Regions from separate parts of the Homo sapiens genome. Here region 1 is linked to region 2. Evidence: promoter capture Hi-C in human tissues and cell types (Jung and others, 2019). All regions are on one chromosome and are shown on one strand. Each heading gives the region's core, a stretch centred on a gene start or on the middle of the fragment in contact. The rest is flanking DNA. Distances are from core to core; before and after follow the strand shown. Region 1 overlaps RSPRY1 (ring finger and SPRY domain containing 1). Region 2 holds the start of DOK4 (docking protein 4).

Evidence for each region. The method cuts DNA at HindIII sites, captures the fragments that hold promoters and counts their contacts. A contact is called where the count stands out against the background at its distance.
Region 1: a fragment that was not itself captured here is called in contact with the fragment with the promoter of DOK4 in region 2 in 2 of the 25 tissues and cell types used here (lymphoblastoid cells and spleen).

What each region holds. Positions count from the first base shown.
Region 1 is chr16:57,224,114-57,229,459 of GRCh38, forward strand. It overlaps RSPRY1 (ring finger and SPRY domain containing 1), which reads left to right. Exons shown (of 15, transcript NM_133368.3): 11 at 3,229-3,340. Among named protein-coding and RNA genes, the nearest start is that of ARL2BP, 18 kb to the right of the region's middle. The HindIII fragment of the contact is 5,127 bases long and covers 1-4,099 here.
Region 2 is chr16:57,482,628-57,487,742 of GRCh38, forward strand. It overlaps DOK4 (docking protein 4), which reads right to left and starts at 3,866. Exons shown (of 9, transcript NM_018110.5): 1 at 3,678-3,866. RefSeq lists an enhancer at 3,119-3,915 and a silencer at 3,747-4,046. The HindIII fragment of the contact is 12,171 bases long and covers 1-5,115 here.

The sequences.
Region 1 (5,346 bases), core at 286-2,785, 260 kb before region 2:
GACAGGCTCCAAGGCTGTCAGGGCCAAGAAACAGGAAGTACAATAGCCGGTGTTTTAGGGAAACGATCTGGCCAGCATGCAGCCACCATTGCTGCTGGAAATCCATCCTAACTATCCCTCTGTTTGGGGTCACTTGCACCATACTGAGTGTTTGATGGGAAGGTCCAGCTGGCCAAGCCTAGGTCATATCTTACCTTTCCACTTCCAAAGGAGGAGGCAGAACACTGTCTTCATACATTTCCCTTAACAGGAAACGGTTGGGATGCCCTACAGCAGGAAAAAGGAGAGTGTCCACCACGTGGGAAAGAGACTCAAACTATTCCCTGAATGACAAGCTGTGGATAAACTTTCTTTTGTTTGTATTTGGTAATGTTTCCATTGCTAAAATATGCATGACCAAAAAACAGGTAGTTCAAGATAAATACCAAGCTAACCACTCTATTCTCTCATTTATCTGTCCTAGCCAATGGAAACCAAAATTAATCCTGCTGGGAACATTTTGAGCTGAGAGAGGGTGTAGGACATCTAGGTTGTTCTCTGAGATGTAAGCTTAAGAGATTTTTAAAGTGCATCTCTGCTAGGCAGAGGCATCTTCTCCTTAAATCTGTAGATGCTGCTCTGTAGTTAAAGTTATTAGAGTTCCTTCTTTGTGCTACAGTGCCACTCTGTTGTGGAACTTATCCAGTCATCAAAGACATTGCATGGTAAAGAATGTGTAATGAGTCTGCTCTTTACCAACTCATGGTGGCTAGCTTCTAGGAATTTCTTTCAAGTGTTCTGTCAAGGACTTCTCAGGACATTAGAAGGTGAAGATAGAAAAGAATTGCTTGCCTTTTACTTATGCCACAATGCCTACATTTTAGTGGTTTTTAAGTTTTTTACTTACTGACTTGTTCAGCGTTTGAAAGGTGTGGCAAGGCATTCTTTCTAGCAAGTAGTGAATTTCTTTTGTTTTGTTTTGTTTTGAGACAGTCTCGCTCTGTCACCCAGGCCAGGGTGCAGTGGCACGTGATCTCTGCTCACTGCAACCTCTGCCTCCCAGGTTCAGGCGATTCTTGTGCCTCAGCCACCAGAGTAACTGGGATTATAGGTGTGCGCCACCACACCTGGATAATTTTTGTATTTTTAGTAGAGACAGGGTTTCGCCATGTTGGCCAGGCTGGTCTCAAATGCCTGGCCTCAAGTGATCTGCCCCCCAAAGTGCTGAAATTACAGGCATGAGCCACTGCTCTTGGCAGCCTTGGGTGGTGAATTTCTAAGGCAATTAGATGCAAGCTCATTTAACTCTTGAGTAGTCTGAATAGTGAATATCAATAGCTATTTCAGAAGAGTCACTTTGGAGAGCGTTCCTCCAAATTCAGTATGTTGTAATCCAAAAATCCAGTACAAAATCATTGTTGCATTCATCAGAACTTTTTTTCCAATCTCTCTCCTCACTGTATTGTTTGCCCCATAGAAGAAGCAGGCCATCAGGACCTGATCTTACTTGGATTTGGCCATTTTCAATTTCTTTCTCTAGTAAAACTTTTCACCATTGTTCCTTAAAGATAGCAGTTGTCTGATTTGCATGCTGCTTCTATTTTTTATAAGCACTCAAAATAATTTCTTAAGATCTCAGCCACCCTTTTATTTTAACAGTTCTGTGAAATAATTGAAAGGCAGTAAGTAACAAAAAGAAGAAACTGCCAGGCGCGGTGGCTCACGCCTGTAATCCCAGCACTTTGGGAGGCCGAGGCGGGCAGATCACCTGAGGTCTAGAGTTCGAGACCAGCCTGACCAACATGGAGAAACCCCGTCCCTACTAAAAATACAAAATTAGCTGGGCCTGGTGGCGCATGCCTATAATCCCAGCTACTCAGGAGGCTGAGGCAGGAGAATCGCTTAAACCCGGGAGGCAGAGGTTGTGGTGAGCCAAGATCGCGCCATTGCACTCCAGCCTAGGCAACAAGAGTGAAACTCCATCTCAAAGAAAAAAAAAGAAGAAACTGCCAAGGACCTGTACAATCCTCAAATCAAGCTGATTTCAGAATAGCTTTTAGCTGAGTGTCCACTATAACCTTTCTCTTATCTCCAGTTTTGAAATCTCTGAATATTTGGGTATTTTGAAGTCTGCTACATGCAAGAAAGGTATTTGCCTGATCTGATCTTGTTACTGGAAAGGGTCTGGATCCAGATCCCAAGAGAGGGTTTTTGGACCTCGCGCAAGAAAGAATTTGGGGCGAATCCATAGAATAAAGTGTTTTCACAAGTTTATTAAAGAAACAGAAGAATGGCTACTCTATAGGCAGAGCAGTGGCGTGGGCTGCTCAACTGAGTATACTTAGTTATTTCTCGATTATATGCTAAACAGGGATGGATTATTCATGAGTTTTCTGGGAAAGGGACAGGCAATTCCTGGAACCAAGGGTTCCTCTCCTTTTTAGACTATATAGGGTAACTTCCAAACTGCCATGACATTGTAAAGTGTCATGGCACCTGTTAGAGTGTCTTTTAGCATGCTAATGCATTATAATTAGCATATAATGAACAGTGAAGATGACCAGAGGTCACTTTTGTTGCCATCTTGGTTTTGGTGGGTTTTGGCCAGCTTCTGGCTGGCTTCTTTATTGCATCCTGTTTTATCAGCAGGGTCTTTGTGACCTGTATCTTGTGCTGACCTCCTGTCTCATCCTGTGACTAAGAATGCCTAACCTCTTGGGAATGCAGCTGAGCAGCCCAGCAAGTCTAAGCCTCATTTTACCCTGCCCCTATTCAAGATGGAGTCTCTCTGGTTTGAATGCCTCTGACAATCTTGTGCTGATATACAAGTGTACTGACTGATCTTGGAATCAGAAGAATTTAGGTTCAAACCTGGCTCTGTTTCTTGGGCAAGTAATATATGCTTGGGCAAGCTGGTTGACCTCTTTGAGCCTTTGTTTCCTCTTAAAATGGAGTCTGATGCCACCAGCCTCATGATAATGTTAGTGAGAATTAAATGAACTAACAAATGTGAAAGTGCCTGAACAAAGGAGGCACTGGGAAAATATTTGTTGGTGAAGTCATTATCTATTCACTTGGAACCAGCCCTCTAAGTCATAATTTTAGTATTTTCAAAAAACCATGAGCTCTCTCATCATCCAGAAAGCTTAGAATCCCAGCCATTAGGTCAGTGGTCGTAAAAGACACACTCTCTGTTCCCAGGTCAGAGCAGGCAGACTTGCTAATCTTCTGGGCCTTGTCTCTCTCCAGGAAGGCTACGGCATTGGGGATGATGAATACTCCTGTGCGTATGATGGCTGCCGGCAGCTGATTTGGTACAATGCCAGAAGTAAGCCTCACATACACCCATGCTGGAAAGAAGGTATTCATTCCCTCCATTATAAATTTATCAAGTGGGTTAAGACATCTGGTTATTATGAGGCATTTATTACATTAAGCCTTAAAATGTCTTAGGAGAAGATCAAATGTGAAAAGGGATATTAACTTTTGTGTCACTGCCAAGGATATAAATGGTATTCCTCTGATAAATTTACCTCTGGTGGAGTTCTTCCTGTAGCAAAAACATTTCAGAAAATAAATTTTTTACATTTGTCAGAAAATGATACTCAAGATTAGTATGAATTCTATTTTCCTCTTTGGATCTGTTTTGAATTAAAGCAGCCATGGCAATATCAGGGACACTGGAATTGTAATGCCACTAAAATGAGGATTTTTCAGGGACAAGATGGCTATGGAACAGGTCCTATCCAGTGGCCACGCTCTAAGGAAGTAGGGTCATATGGTAGAGGATATAACCTCTGGAAGGATTTGATTCCTAGCATCAGAGCTAGATAGAGGATATAACCCAACTCTTTCTCCAAGCATCCCTCTCTCATTTTGCTACCCCAATCAGCATTATGGATATAAACTGAATTTTTAGGCATGCTAAGAAAGCAGAAATTTAGGCTGAGGCAGGTGGATTGCTTGAAGTCAGGAGTTCAAGACCAGCCTGGCCAACATGGTGAAACCTCATCTCTACTAAAATACAAAAATTAACCAGGTGTGGTGGCACCCACCTGCGGTCCCGGCTACTTGGGAGGCTGAGGCAGGAGAATCAGTTGAACCCAGGAGGCAGAGGTTGCAATGAGCCGAGGTTGCGCCACTGCACTCCAGCCTGAGCAACAGAGTGAGACTCCATCTCAAAAAAAAAAAAAAAAAAAAAGGAAAGCAGGAATTTGCCCACCCCCATATGGAAACAGCTCCACTTGATTAAATTGGTGGTGTGGGAAAAAAATCAGAAAAGCCAACAGGAACACTCATTTTAATGGCTTGCAGGTTCTTGAAGGAACATAAAACTTCTTCATTTAATGGAGCATATGATAAAGGCCCTGTTTTCAAAAACTAGCTTGTTTTTTAATAAGAATTTTTTAAAGGATTATTCGAGTAATATGTTTATTATAAAAATTTGAAAAATAGAAAAAAAATGAATAAACTAAAAATCCCCTGTAATTTCTCCAGAGATTTTTTAAAAACACTTAAATTTTATATATATGTATATTTTTGTTGTTGTTATACTTAATACCTTGAACAGCTTTCCAGGTTATTAAATAACATTACTTTTTATTGTTGCTGTTTTTGAGACAGGGTCTCATCTATCGATAGCCCAGGCTTGCGTGCAGTGGTGTGATCATAGCTCATACAGCCTTGACCTCCCAGGCACAATCCATCCTCCCACCTCAGCCTCTCCAGTAGCTGGGACTACAGGGACACACCACCACGCCCGGCTAATTTTTGTATTTTTTTGGTAGAGACAGGATTTTGCCATGTTGCCCTGGCTAGTCTCAAACTTCTGGGCTCAAGTGATCCACCCAACTCTGGCCTCCCAAAGTGTTGGGATTACAGGCCTGAGCCCCCATGGCCCAGCCAATAACATTACTTTTAATGGCTTCTCAGTATTCCATTATATAGTTGTACTATGATATACTAATTAATGCCTCATTGTTGGACACTGACATTTTTGCCTTTTAAAATTATCATTATAGACCATTCTGGATTTTCTCAAGACAAAACCCTTAGAAGTGAAACTTCTCTGGCAAGGGGGATATAGAATTTCAAAGCTTTTGCTGTATATTGCCAGATTTTCCTCCACCAGCATTGAGTGTCCATTTTTCTTGTCATTGCTGTGTAATTTCATTTGTTTATCTTTGACAGACAAATTTGTTTATCTCATCTTTCAAAACCAAAATTGGGCCAGACGTGGTGGCTCATACTTTTAATCCCAGCACTTTTGGAGATCAAAGTGTGAGGATCCTTTGAGAGGATCACTTGGGGCCAGGAGTTTGAGATTAGCCTGGGCAACATAATGAGACCCCCCATCTCTATAAAAAA
Region 2 (5,115 bases), core at 2,616-5,115:
ACGTTCTGGGATTACAGGCGTGAGCCACTGCGCCCGGCCCCTAGAGATGGGTTTTCACCATGTTGCCCAGGCTGGTCTTGAACTCCTGGGGTCAAGTGATCCACAAGGCTCGGCCTCCCTGAGTGCTGAGATTACAGGTGTGAGCAACTGCGCCTGGCCAGAGCTTCTGCCTTGAAAACTCCAAGGGCTGTGTGTATGTATATATATATAGTTTTCTTCAAGAGTTGCTGCCCAGACAGGGCGGTGAAACCACCAGAAGCCAGCCTGCTCCTTCCCAGTGTTGCCCCACCAGGGACTGTGGCCCCAAGCTCGCAGGAGTGCTCCTGCTGCGTCTGTCCATAGGCCCCACCCCGTCCCATACCCCAGGTCCCCAGCGGGAAGAGTGACCTTCACGGGGAAGGCTGGGTGCCAAAGTCCTGCCAGCTCACTCCGGCCCTGAGTCACAGGGACCCCTGGCCACACTTAGTCCCTAATGATGTTTGCAAGAGCAAGACCTAACCTAGGACCCAAAATGGTGGGCAAAGAGGGGTTCGGAAGGGGAGGGAAAGGTCAGGGCCAATAGGTGGACCCACAAATTTGACAGGCAGTGGGGTCAAGTGGTGAGGGGGGGGCCCAGAACCAACCCACCATCCTCCAGAAGGAATGCACTGTGTTAAGCAAGCGAGGCGGCCCCCAAGCTGAGCCTGTGAAGGCCCAATAGGACAGCAAGAAGTGGAGAGCAGACCAGGCACAGTGGCTCACACCTGTAATCCCAACACTTTGGGAGGCCAAAGTGGGAGGATCACTTGGGGCCAGGAGTTCAAGACCAGATCCGGCAACATAGAGAGACCCCGTCTCTACAAAAAATGAAAAAATAAGCTGGGCATGTGGCACGTGCCTGTAGTCACAGCTACTGGGGAGGCCGAGGTGGGAGGATCACTTGAGCTCAGGAATTCCAGGTAGCAGTGAGCTATGATCAAGCCACTGCACTCCAGCCTGGGTGATAGAGTGAGACTGTTTCTAAAAAATTTCAAAAAAATCAATTAAAAAAATACAAAAATTGGAGGGCAGCTGAGGCTAGGCAGGCCAGGAATTGGGTTGAAGTAGCCCCTGCCCTGTTTGTCCCTCAGGCCCTTGTCCCCAACAGGCCTGCAGCAGGAAGAATGCTTGCTACTTTGAGAGGACCTGAGGTCTTGGGTCCTTCCCCAGCACTGTGAGCTCCGAGCTCCCAGCTAAGCACGGTGTCCAGCAGTCGCTCTCAGGGTTCCAGTGAGGGAGGAGGGGAGCAAGGGCCCCCCGCATCCCACCTCCCAGCCTGGTACCAATACTGCTGCTTACCCAGGGACAGTACCTGCCTGGTGCCAGGCCACCACAGGTTTCCGCGCAGGGAGAGCCAGCTCCAAAATGCTCCTCTCCCCAGGAAGGGCTGGTGTCCTGGGGTGGCGGGGAGTAGGGAGACTCCCAGGGCCCTCACTGCCCACCTGCCCCACAGGGCAGCCATGCTGAGCACTCCCTCTCGCACATGGATTCTGCCTGGAGGCTTTGGCTCCAGAACAAACGCGCTGAGGCTGGCAACCAATGACTGAGCGAGCGGCTGCCTGCCTGGCTGGGCCTCCCCACCCCTGACAGATCGGATCTTATCAGGGCTGCAGGAACAGCCCTACCTGGACACCATCTCAGTGTCGTCTGGCTGTCTCGATCCAACGGCGAAGATTGGATCTGTGGGATTCTCTCCAGCACCAGAGCCATTTCCCATCACCTGCTGCTCTGCCCCCACCCCACCCCAAGATTGTTGTCAGAGGCCGGCTGGGAGTGCTCCCAACAGATCCCCATAGGGGCCACCGGCCAAAACATGGTGAGTCCCATCAAGGTGGATGGCAAAGACAGACCAAATACCCATCTAGGCAGACAGGGACGGCAGAAGGAGGGGACATCTGAACAGCCATGGTCCCCCAGACCCTTAAGCCAGGAGAGTAATGCTGTGGCCCCGTACCACTCTGGTTCTCCTGGGTCCCCTGCCCACCCCTCAACATGCCAAAACCCCTCCCTCGAGGGACCACTGCACTAGCTGTTTCCCACCTACAACATTGTTCCCTCACATGCTCATGGTTCATTCCATTGCTTCATCCACCTCCTCCAGGAGGCCTTCCCTGACTACCCTCACCAAAGGACCCCCACTAGTCAGCCTCTCTCACAACATCAGATGCGGCTGTCTTCATCGCACATCACCATGGGATTTTCTTGTTCTTACATCTGTCCATTTGTTTCTGGCCACAGAGAGACATCTGGAATGTCAGCTCCCTGGTGGCTCGGCCTCGTCTGTCTAGTTAACAGCTCTATCCCAGCTCCCAGAATGGTGCCCGGTGGGAAGGAGATGCTCAATATTTGGGGGCTGAACACGTAATTCTCTCCAGGACTTGTCCTCCTCCCCATCCTTTCTTCCACCACCACCAGCCTCCATCTGGCTGGACCTGGCTCAGCTTCCAGAGGTGCGTGAGCCACAGTGGGCTCCCAGCTCCTGGGTCTCAGCGCTGACTGGCATGGCCAGCAGGCTGTTGTTACTGGAGAACCAGCTGTGCCCAAGACCCGCAGTTTGGTTCAGAGCTGCCTCAGGGAAGAGCATGCTGCTGACATCGAGGCCAGGCCTAGTTGGGCGGCCCCACCTTGGCCAGGGTTGTGGGGTGAGGTCATGCCCAGCCCTGCTGCCCTGCCCAGGAGGGAAGTGCTGGGAGTAACCAGTACCAGCACAGCAAGGCAAGCAACTGGGGAGAGGAGGCACAGCTCCTGGGATCAGAGTTGGGGGTGGGGGCAGGAAGAGCCTGTACCAGCGCCACATCCCTCTGAAAGGGTCCAGGAAAGAACCTGCCCTAAGCAAGCCCACCTCACACTGCCCAAGTGGAGTCTCCTAGAGATACTGCCAGGCCCCTCGCTGCCCTGGCCATCAGACCCCTCCAACCCACACCCTCCATCCAAGCGGAAGCGCCCCAGCAACTGACGTGTCCCCATGGCTTGGGGCAGGCAGGCTGCACAGAGCCCCTGCTCTGCCACATCACCCAGGTGCCCAGCCTCGGCTCATGCCCCTTTTCAGTAATAGAAAGCATGTAACTGGATCTAGGGCCTTGCGGGCCCTGGGGGAGAAGGTGGACAGGACCTTGGGGGCCAATGGAGAAAGGTTCAAGGACAGGAGGCAGCTGGCCATGAGTTTGGGCTGTGGGGAGAAACCCCATAGGCAGGAGGGGGTCGGCAGTGGGGGCCAGCTGGGGTACAGAAAATCATCTCTTGGAATTTGGAGGAGGTGAGCGAACAGGAGGCCCCGGGGAGGAGCAGGAAGGCAGAGAGAAGGTTGGGAGCTGCCAGGGGCTGGGTTATGCCCCTTCCGGGGGGGCAGGCCCGGGAGCGCAGGGCCTGGGTTGCTCGGATGAGGTTTGTGTGGGTGCGGGTGAGGTCAGCTCGCGACCTGGGCTCCCCCGGAGAGGAAAGCTGCGGGTGGAGAGAGCGCAGGGAGTTTCAGGGCCCAGGCACTGGCTTTTGGGGGGCGGGTCTCTAAGCTCCCCACCCGAGAGTAGGAAGGTCCCATGGGACGGAGCGTCCTCAGGTTCAGGAAGTGACTGAGGGTCCTCAGGGGTGGGAGTCGCCGAGACTCTTGCAGGCTCTGGGCGGCCTATGTCCCCCTCCCTGCCTCACGCCCCCCAATTTACCTGGGCGCCGAGGCCCGGGCCAGGAGCGCCTGCTCAGCGGCGCCGCGGAGCAGGCTCATGCCCGCGTCACGGCGCGGCTGGCGGGGGCGGCAGGGCGGCGGCGGCGCCGGGCTCCAGGCGGGGACGGCGAGGGAGGCGCGGCCGCAGGGCTAGGGATCGGGCTCCGGCTGGGGCTCCGGCTGGGACTCCGCTCCGCTCCCCCCTCCGCCAGGTCTCGCCGCTGCGCCCCGCCCCCTGCCCCGCCCTGGCGGCCGGCCCCCGCCGTATTCCTCCGAGCCGCGGGACGCGCGATTCTGCCCTGGCGCCCTGGCACCCCCGCACCCGCTTCAGGTCGCCCCCGGTACCCCCAGCTCATTCCCACCGCCCCTCCCTGGGCCCCAAAGCCCACATGGCCTCTCAGCCCCTGAAAGCTGAACTCCACATCAGCTCCCAGCCCCCACATCTCAACCCCTTCACTTCTTCAGGAATCACATACACACCCATACGCCACATCAGCTCCCAGCCCCCATATCTCAATTCCTTCACTTCTTCAGGAATCACATACACACCCATTGCTCCCCTAACCCCATCATGACTCTCTGGGCCCTCACAGCCCAGCTCTCCCAGCCCCACAGTGACCTCCTCTGCTACCCCTCCTCAAGTAGCCGCACCAGCACCTCTGTCTTCCCTGGTCTCCTCTCCACCCTCAAAACATCCAGTTCTCCCATTCTAGGTCCCCCTGAGACTTTGCCCTCAAGCTCAAACTTCATTCCCCTTCATTGCTGCCCCCACCCAGCCCCCAACCCCCTCACCTCTGCCCTTCGGGCCTGTGCAGTGGTTGACTCACTGATCTGTCGGAATCCCCAGTCACAGGCCTCAGCTGTGCCAGGCAGGGACAAGAGAAGTTGCCCAGTGCCTCCTCTGGGGAGGAGCTGTCCCCCCTCTGGTTTTCACGTCTGTACCTTTTTACACCAGGGCTTCTCAAAGTGTAGTCCCTGGACCAGAAGCTTCCCATCACCTTGAAACTTGTTAGAAATGCAAATTCCCTGCCCTACTCAGACCTATGAAATCAGAATTTTTGGGGGTTTCCAGCAGAAATGTGTGTTTTAACAGGCCAGGTGATTCTGATGCACACGAATGTGTGAGAACCACTGCTTTAGACCATATATACAAAACAAAACAATAGGCCACCTGAACAGCCAAAATCCTGAGAAATGAAAATACCTCCACATCCAGCTACTGTCCAGGTGTCTCAGAGGAATAGGCCTAAAGCAGTGAGGGACCAAGGATCCCAACACCCACCCATGGAATGCATGCCCCTGCCCCGGAGACGCCTGGGCCTCAGCCTTGCCCAGGGAGCTTAAAAGGAGGCTGCCTCTGGATGTCTGAAAATTTCCCTGATGGTCATTGTGGTGTCTGTGATCAGCCTGAGCTAACCAGCCCCAGGCCCATGGCCAAG